Linked DNA regions of Homo sapiens: region 2 is linked to region 1. Evidence: promoter capture Hi-C in human tissues and cell types (Jung and others, 2019). All regions are on one chromosome and are shown on one strand. Each heading gives the region's core, a stretch centred on a gene start or on the middle of the fragment in contact. The rest is flanking DNA. Distances are from core to core; before and after follow the strand shown.

Region 1 (4,230 bases), core at 1,056-3,555:
CATCTGGTGGGTGGCAGAAGGGGAGAGAGGAATGTCTGAGCCTTTTCCTTGGAGCCAGAGTTCCCAGGGAGTGGGAGAGGAGACCTGCAGGCGTTGTCCCTGCAACTGCTCACTCCTGGTTGATTCGGGGATAGTGGGAGCAAGGGGAATGGGGCTGCTGTGTGTTGGGGGAGAGAAAGGGCTGAAAGCATGCGGTCCTTTGAGTTCAAGGGGCTGGGAGAGAGTAGGAGAAGAAAGGAGAAAGGAGTGGTCTGTTGAGAGAGAAGACTGCCAAGCCGGGGGGCCTCTTTCCCTTGGCCCTGGGACAGTCTGGCCTTCCACAACCCCAGAGGGGGCAGCTCAGGTGTCTCGGATCAGATGTCCCCATCCTTCCCCAGGCCTAGGGGGCTGGACAATGGCCCCTGATCGAATGACATCCCAGTTCTTCAATGGGGCCCTTGTGAGTGTCATCTGAACTCCGGACCTGAGAAGCAGTTGTCACAGAGACATGGGGGAGATGGAACCCAAGCTGTGGCTGATGAGGGGATAAGGGGTGCTTGAGGGAGGGGTGCTGGTAGCTTGATTACCTGCTCCATGCCAGAGGGGCAGCTGGAGGTCACCTGGAGCCCTAAAGCAGCCTGGGATTTTACGTGGTGGCAGTTCTGAGAGGACTTGGGGGCAGGGGAGATGGGGAAACAAAGAGGTAAGAATGGGGGGAAAGAGGAGTCAAGAGGTCTGGGCCAAAAATGGGAGGAGGAGAAAGGGGAGGTCCTGTGGAGGTCGAGTTGGGAAGGGGCACAGCACCCTACATCTCTGCTTCCCCATATCATGGGAGCTTTGCCCTGCCACCCCCAGACTCCCCCGGGACCTGAGCTCTTGGCAAGGCAGGGTGGGGGTGGCAGAGACTAAGGCTGGCAGGAGAGGTGGGGGCAGAAACAGCTGTTGTATCTGCTCTCTTCTTACCCCACAGGAGGCGAGGCAGGGGAGGGCTGGGACCCTTCCCAACACCTGGGAGACAGAGGGGGCCTTGGCAGGGACTTGAGGGCTCCCTGTGGGAGGGCCAGGCGGTCAGGAAGCTCATGGTGGGTTCCCCACTGGCTTCCTCCTTTGCTGAGCTGCCAGCTCTCTCTCCGACCTTCAGTTCATTTGTCTCTCATCACCACCTTCCAAACCCTGTCTCCCCCAAATCCCAAACTGCCCTCACCCTGACTGACTCCTCCCAGATCCTCAGTGCTCCACAGTGCTATGGTCCCCAGCCTCTTGGAGCCCTTCTGAAGACCCCTCTCCCTGAAGCTGGCAGGCCAGGGACTAGCCCAGTGGGGCAGGGTACTCACGGTTGGCCTGGGCCTGAGGTGGGAGCAGGTTCTGGACAGATGGCCAAGGTTGCAAATGTGGCTGCTGGAGCTGTGTGTGGAGACCTGTCTTCAACAGTCCCTCCCCCGCTGACCCCCCCACCGACTCCACCCCTTCACAGACGAACACCCTGTGGGGCAAGGGGCCAGGAGCAGACAGAGGCGCCCTCTGTCTCCTGGGCTGGAACAGGCGGCCCTTGTCTCTTTCCCAGCCTTGCTTGCCCCGTTCCTTTCTCTCCAGGCAGCAGTGGATGGTGCAGGGGAAAGAGGTGGGAAGGAGGTCCTGGGAGGGACACTGGATGTCTTACCCCAAGCTGGGCCTTGCAGTACCTGTGGCTGGCTGTGCTGGTTGAGCCCGGTAAGGGGGGAATTCTGCTGAGGGGGTCTTAGTCTGTGGCTCCTCCATGGGGCCTCACTGAGAGGACCCTCAGTGAGAAACTTAGTCTTGGGAGTCTGAGAACCCACAGAGGGATTTCAATCCAGGACTCTTCTCTGGGGGTCTCAACCTGGATCCCCCTCTGTGTGTGGGGCCTCAGCCTGGGGTTCTCTGAGGGATCTTGGTCTGTAGCATCCTTTGTGGGATCTCATTCCAAGGGGCCTCTGTGTGTGTCTCAGATTGGGCCTCTCAGTGTTGAGCTCCCTTGATTGGTTGCCTCCCTCTTCCCCCCTCAGCATACACACTCCTGATTAGACATGGGTATGGTGGCAGCAGCCCCCAGTATTGAGAGGACTAGGACCCTGGGACCCCTGCCGAACGAGATCTGTCCAGGCAGCTCCTCTCCCTGACCAAGTGGGGGCGCTCGTGTGGCTGGCAGGGAGCCCGGGTCCAGACCTGAGGGCTCAGGGCAAGCGGCCTGATTGGGCTGTCTCTGGTCTTCAGAATCGACCACGGAAATTTGACACCTCCGGGCTTGGAAGCAGCTCTCTCCTCCTTCCCCGCTGCTTATAAACCTCAGCCCTGAGGCTCCAGCTCACTCTACCCCATCTCCTTGCCGGGTGAGTCTCATGGCTGACCCTGGAGGGAGGCTGGAGATCATTTTTTCTTCCTGGGCTCCCAGGTCCCTCCCCCAGAGCCAGCTCAGACAGGAATTCAGGAAGGAGCTTTGGATGATCGAGCAACAGCGCGTGCAGGAGTGTGTGACGGGGTGGACAGAAAAGAGAATGCCTCTTCCAGCCCCACCCGCCGCACCCCAGGGGGTTGTGAGTGCCTGTACTAAACCCGTCCTGGAGCAGGGAGTCAGAGACGCCCCGTTCCAGGACCCTTGTCACCGGGAGACAGGAGCGGGGAGGATCTGTGGGGTCCTGGGTTCAGCACTCTGCCCTGCTGCCGCTGAGGAGAGGTAAGGGTGGAGCGGGGCAGAGAAAATGGGTCTGTTCAGACGGAGCCAGCTCTGACCACAGGGGACATTTGCCAGACCCTGTGCTTCTCTGCTGGGAGGAGCGGTTAGAGTGTGTGTGGGCGGATGCGAGTGGCCGGAGACCAGGGCCCAACATAAACAAGCTTTGGAGACAAACAACCTTATGACCTGTGAGTCTGGGTGAGACAAGAAGGGATTCTTGAGACAGACACGCCACAGAGGGGCCACCAGACTTGAAGGACTCCAAGAAGGACCTTCAACTGAAGACCTCCTCTCAAGTAGAGGGGTCTCCAGATCGAGGGATCACCACAGAGGGGTCCCTAAGCCACAGACATTTAAAAAGGATCCCGGATTGTGAGACCTACAGAAGAGGGGGTTTCTGGAGCTGAATCTCCTGCCCCCACCAAAACTGAGATGCCGTTGCCTGGTCTGCTGCCCCAAGCTCAACCCCTGTCCTCTCCCTCTTTCCCCATATGCCCCCTCCAGGCTGAGACTGATGTGATAACACCAAGGCAGGGACCTTCTGAACCATTCCTGCATCTTGGGGCTCCCTGACTCTCCCTCTCTGCTCCTTCTCTCTTCCACAGGTCAGCCCTGACAAAGGTCAGCTAGCCCCTTGAGGACATCAGCTTTGGCCTCAGGGTCCTAATGGCAGCAGAACCACTGACAGAGCTAGAGGAGTCCATTGAGACCGTGGTCACCACCTTCTTCACCTTTGCAAGGCAGGAGGGCCGGAAGGATAGCCTCAGCGTCAACGAGTTCAAAGAGCTGGTTACCCAGCAGTTGCCCCATCTGCTCAAGGTAGGCAGAAGTCTGGGACTGAGATTTTGTGAGATGATGATTATGGGACACTGTGTTTAGGACGTGATGGTGCCGAGTACGGTGAGGTGACCACAAGAAAGGGTGTGGGTGGCTGCATGTGTCAATGGTTGCAGGTTTTCTTTTGTTTTTTCGAGACAAAGTCTCACTCTGTTGCCCAGGCCGGAGTGCAGTGGTGTGATCTTGGCTCACTGCAACCTCCATCTCCGGGGTTCAAGTGATTCTCCTGCCTCAGCCTCCTGAGTAGCTGGGATTACAGGTGTGTGCCACCACGCCGAGCCTATTTCTGTATTTTTAGTAGAGACAGGGTTTCACCAGGTTGGCCAGGCTGGTCTCGAACTCCTGACCTCAGGTGATCCACCCGCCTCGGCCTCCCAAAGTGCTGTGGTTACAGGCGCAAGCCACTGCGCCTGACCCGGTTGTGAGTTTTCTTGCCTGGTGTGTACATGTGTGTGTTTGTGTGTCCATGCATATAATTAGGTAAGCAAAGATACTATGTGCCAGTGGGAGTATGGTCTTGTGTCAGAAGATGCTGTTGGGTTCTTGTGTATGCTCTGTGCCTTTCTGGTCTAATTTCCCCAAGACAGGACTGGACCCAGAGCTGGCTTCCAGGAGATTCACAGACTGTCAGAGCTGGAAGGAGGCCAAGAGAAAACACAGTCCGCATTCCTCACTTCACATATATGGAAACTGAGGCCTAGCAGTGGAAAGGGGCTTATCAA
Region 2 (4,230 bases), core at 608-3,107, 530 kb before region 1:
CCCTCACAACTGCTTACAGAATGGATCATGTCCCCCTTATGTTGAGGTGACCACTTAATTGCTTTCCTGCCTCCTTGAAAGAAAGAAAGAAAGAAGACTGTGTTTTTGCCACTGATTTAGCCATGTGAAACTCATCTCATTACCCTTTTCTGGGTTTGAAGCTGCTGTCTCTAGAAGTGCCATCTCAATTGTGCTTTGTATCAGTCAGTGCTGGAGAAATCTTGAATAGCTTATGTACAAAACTTTTTAAATTTTATATTATTTTGAAACTTTGCTTTGGGTTTGTGGCACCCTGGCCACCCCATCTGGCTGTGACAGCCTCTGCAGTCCGTGGGCTGGCAGTTTGTTGATCTTTTAAGTTTCCTTCCCTACCCAGTCCCCATTTTCTGGTAAGGTTTCTAGGAGGTCTGTTAGGTGTACATCCTGCAGCTTATTGGCTTAAAATGTACTCTCCTTTTATGTGGTCTCTTTGGGGCCGATTGGGAGAAAGAGAAATCAATAGTGCAACTGTTTTGATACTGAATATTGACAAGTGTCTTTTTGAAATAAAGAACCAGTCCCTCCAACCCTCAGACCTATTTGACTTTTATTTATTAAAACTAAATGTGCTTTCTCCACAGAAGCTATGAGGTTTGGGTTAAAAATAGCATCTTTGTGGGTGGTAGCAACAGGATTTATTCTTTATTATTATTATTTTTGAGATGAAGTTTCATTCTTGTTGCCTGGGCTGGAGCGTAATGGCTCGATCTCGGCTCACTGCAACCTCCGCCTCCTGGTTCAAGAGATTCTCCTGCCTCAGCCTCCCGAGTAGCTGGGATTACAGGCACCTGCCACCATGCCCGGGTAATTTTTTATATTTTAAGTAGAGACAGGGCTTCACCATGTTGGCCAGGCTGGTCTCGAACTCCTGACCTTCAGGTGATCCACCTGCCTCAGCTTCCCAAAATGCTGGGATTACGGGCGTGAGCCACCGCACCCAGCTGGAGCAACAGGATTTAATATAGAGCAAATGTTTAGTTTTATCATCTGTAAAATGGAGATAAGTATTGTCAGAGTAAACATGAAGATTAGAAAGAACACTTAATGTGCTGGGCCTTTTATAGGTTAACACTGACATCTCAGGCTGAACTATATACATTTTCCTTCACAACCATATCAATCCTTATAAACTATGGATTTATGCTCCTTAAAACAATATATAATGCTGATCACTACTATAAATGCGTGGTTTTAACCAACTGTACTGAAACAGCTTTGAGTTTATATTCTGTTTGGATATTTGGAGAAAACAACAAGTGCTCTCAAGAGTATTTGCTTAGAGGCCGGCTGTGTGAGTGGATAACTTTGAAAGCTGCTTTTGAGACGCCAGTGTCTGGCATTTCCTGCATTCTGGCCTGGAGGCCGGACGTGAATCTGACTTCTAGTAAAAATACACGGTTCCCTTGACAAAGTCGAGCTGTTTATCCCAGAGACTGCACAATTTTCCGTTGATAGGCATGGACCAATGCTAACTGGAAATCATTGCAAAAAGTTTTTTTGTCGGGCGGAGGGTGTGGTGTTAAGATAAACAGTGTGCAACAGAAGAAATTAAAACTGGAAGAAATTAAAGGGTTTTTTTTAGACTTTTCTGCTTGTTCCTTACTGTTAAAAAGGTCTGCCATCCAGTATTTAGGAAAGCCCTTTAAGAGAGTTTGAGGTGTTTTAGCTGGGTTTGTGCCAAAAGTTTCCATTATATTGGCTTGCTGAAGGACTGCATTTAAAAATGCCCACACATCCGAGCAAGAAGCAGGTCCCATCCCCCTCTGCTGACGTCACGCCTGTGGATTGGCTGATGGAGCTGTGAGCCGGCTGTAGTTGAGCGGGAACCCGAGACCTGGCAGTCGCCATGACTGGCTGTCCGGCGTCATCAAGACGCCGAGGCTTCGGGCTCTTTTTCTTCTTGCGTCTACACCGCCTCCTGTTGTTGTTTCTGGTTTTGCGTGGGACCCTGGCCAACAAACTTAACGTGCCACAGGTGTTGCTACCCTTCGGCCGAGAGCCAGGCCGGGTGCCTTTCCTGCTGGAGGCCCAGCGGGGCTGCTACACTTGGTGAGGGGTGGTGGGTGACAAGGATATGCACCCTCACTACCATCCAGTAAGGGTGAGGGGGGTTCCCTCTGTAAGATCCCACAGGAATACCGTGTGGGGCCGCGTGAAGGGGCCTAGCCGGTAGGGGAGGAGAGTGTGGTGTCAGTGAAGGTGGCGAGGAGCAGACCCTTGGGTGTGGCGTGTCCTACTCATGTGGTATATCCTCCAGCTGTGTGACAATCTTCCAGACGTGTGAGGAATTCTCGGGATGTGGGACTGGCCTCTTCTCTGTGTGTGTTGGGAAGGGGTGGTCACTATGAGCAGCCGTCAGGGTAAAGGGAAGCCCTGTGTTGGAGGCCACAGGTACTGATGACTTCCAATGTAAACAACTAGAGTAAGAGGAAGTTCCCCATATCTGAGGAAATTTCTGTAGGAACAGGAAAACTTGGGGTGCGAGGGTCCCCACTAACTATAGATGAGCTATTCAATGTGAGAAGGACTTAAAACACAACAGCCAAGTATTGGGGGTTAACTAAGCACTTTACATGTGTTAACTCATTCGCTTTTTGCAGTCTTATGAAGTAAGTACTATTACTCCCATTTCACAGACGAGGAAAGTGAGGCCCAGAGACTATGAAGTGTAAACTTCTGGGAATATGAGAAGATTTATCGTGGGTGGAGATGAGATCTGTCTGTATTATCAAAATTGCCCCATTTATAAAAGGGTACCCGCTTGAAGTGTGAGGACAGGGGGTACACACAACTCCGGGATAATGACTTCCTGACTGAAGATGAAGAGACATGATTTTCTGGTGTGAGAGGACCCAATGATGGGTTATGTGGTTGCCTAAGGTATGAGAGAACCTAACCGAAGTGAGCTTCAGGATGCCAGTGCATTCATCCTAGATGGAGTAGATACCCCTTTGCCATCTCCTAGGAGAAGCAATGAGGTTTGTTCCGAGTATAAATTCACCTCTCATTTTATGAGGAAGTATAAGGAAAGTGAGCTTGTAAGATGATCCAGTGTGACGTGTGTGTTTCCTGACCGTGAGGGTGATGCAAGGCATCTTTCCAGCATTGAAAGCCATTTCTTCTATCACTCCAAAAATATTAATGAGGCCAGGCATGGTGGCTCACGCCTGTAATCCCAGCACTTTGGGAGGCCAAGGCAGGAGGATTACTTGAGGCCAGGAGTTTGAGACCAGCCGGATCAACATAGTGAGACCCCGTCTCTATTTAAAATAAAAACATTCGGCCGGGCGCAGTGGCTCACGCCTGTAATCCCAGCACTTTGGGAGGCCGGGGCAGGCAGATCACTTGAAGTCAGGAGTTCAAGACCAGCCTGGCCAACATGATGAAAGCCCATCCCTACTAAAAATACAAAAATTAGTCGGGCATAGTGGCAGACACCTGTAATCTCAGCTACTCGAGAGGCTGAGGCAGGAGAATCGCTTGAACCCTGGAGGCGAATGTTGCAGTGAGCTGAGATCGCCCTGCTGCACTTCAGCTTGGGCAACAAAGTGACTCGGTCTCAAAAACATAATAATAAATAAGAATAAAAATATTTATGAATGTTTTTGGTATTTTGAGTTGGACTCACACCTCATAATTTAGGCACCTTTTCCATCCTAGATATCAGAAGCCTGGTTTCTAGGATTGAAGGAAACTTTCCTCAGAGTATGAGAAAGTCCCCTCTCATTACTAGAAACACATCAGTCGTATTTCTGCATACTGAGGGAAGAATATAAAAATCTTTTAAAAAAAATTGAGGGAGGGATATTTCTGGGACTTTGTTCAAGGGATCATTGGGAAAGTTCTCATCAATCTCTCAGTTTAATTATCGCATCCCTAAGCAATGTTCCTTCTTTAAAAAGTGTCATTTACATATACCTGGTAGTATGTAACATGGAAGAAGTGTGAGAATCTATGTTCCACTAAAAGTTAATTTTAACCCACCTATTTCACACTCTTAAGAATTTTGTTCTGGCAGGCATTCCACCCATCATGATGCAGTTACTGTTGAGCCTTTATATGAAAATGGCACCTTGTGTTCCCAAAAAGCTGTACTCATTGCTGAATCTACGCAACCGATACGCCTCAGCAGTATTATTCTTGCTCGAGAAATAGGTATGTTGAGAGCAAAAACACTATGTATCACTTCTT

What was found. The method cuts DNA at HindIII sites, captures the fragments that hold promoters and counts their contacts. A contact is called where the count stands out against the background at its distance.
Region 2: the fragment with the promoter of NUP210L here is called in contact with the fragment with the promoter of S100A13 in region 1 in 2 of the 25 tissues and cell types used here (H1 embryonic stem cells and ovary).

Annotation. Positions count from the first base shown.
Region 1 is chr1:153,625,580-153,629,809 of GRCh38, reverse strand. It overlaps S100A13 (S100 calcium binding protein A13), which reads left to right and starts at 2,305. Exons shown (of 3, transcript NM_001024211.2): 1 at 2,305-2,327; 2 at 3,277-3,490. The coding sequence starts at 3,338. It overlaps S100A1 (S100 calcium binding protein A1), which reads right to left and starts at 1,376. Exons shown (of 3, transcript NM_006271.2): 1 at 1,314-1,376. RefSeq lists enhancers at 408-1,231, 2,058-2,883. The HindIII fragment of the contact is 14,694 bases long and covers 1-4,230 here.
Region 2 is chr1:154,152,700-154,156,929 of GRCh38, reverse strand. It overlaps NUP210L (nucleoporin 210 like), which reads left to right and starts at 1,857. Exons shown (of 40, transcript NM_207308.3): 1 at 1,857-2,088; 2 at 4,058-4,194. The coding sequence starts at 1,886. It also overlaps a transcript of TPM3 not described here. RefSeq lists a silencer at 739-916 and enhancers at 1,523-2,023, 2,024-2,524. The HindIII fragment of the contact is 16,458 bases long and covers 1-4,230 here.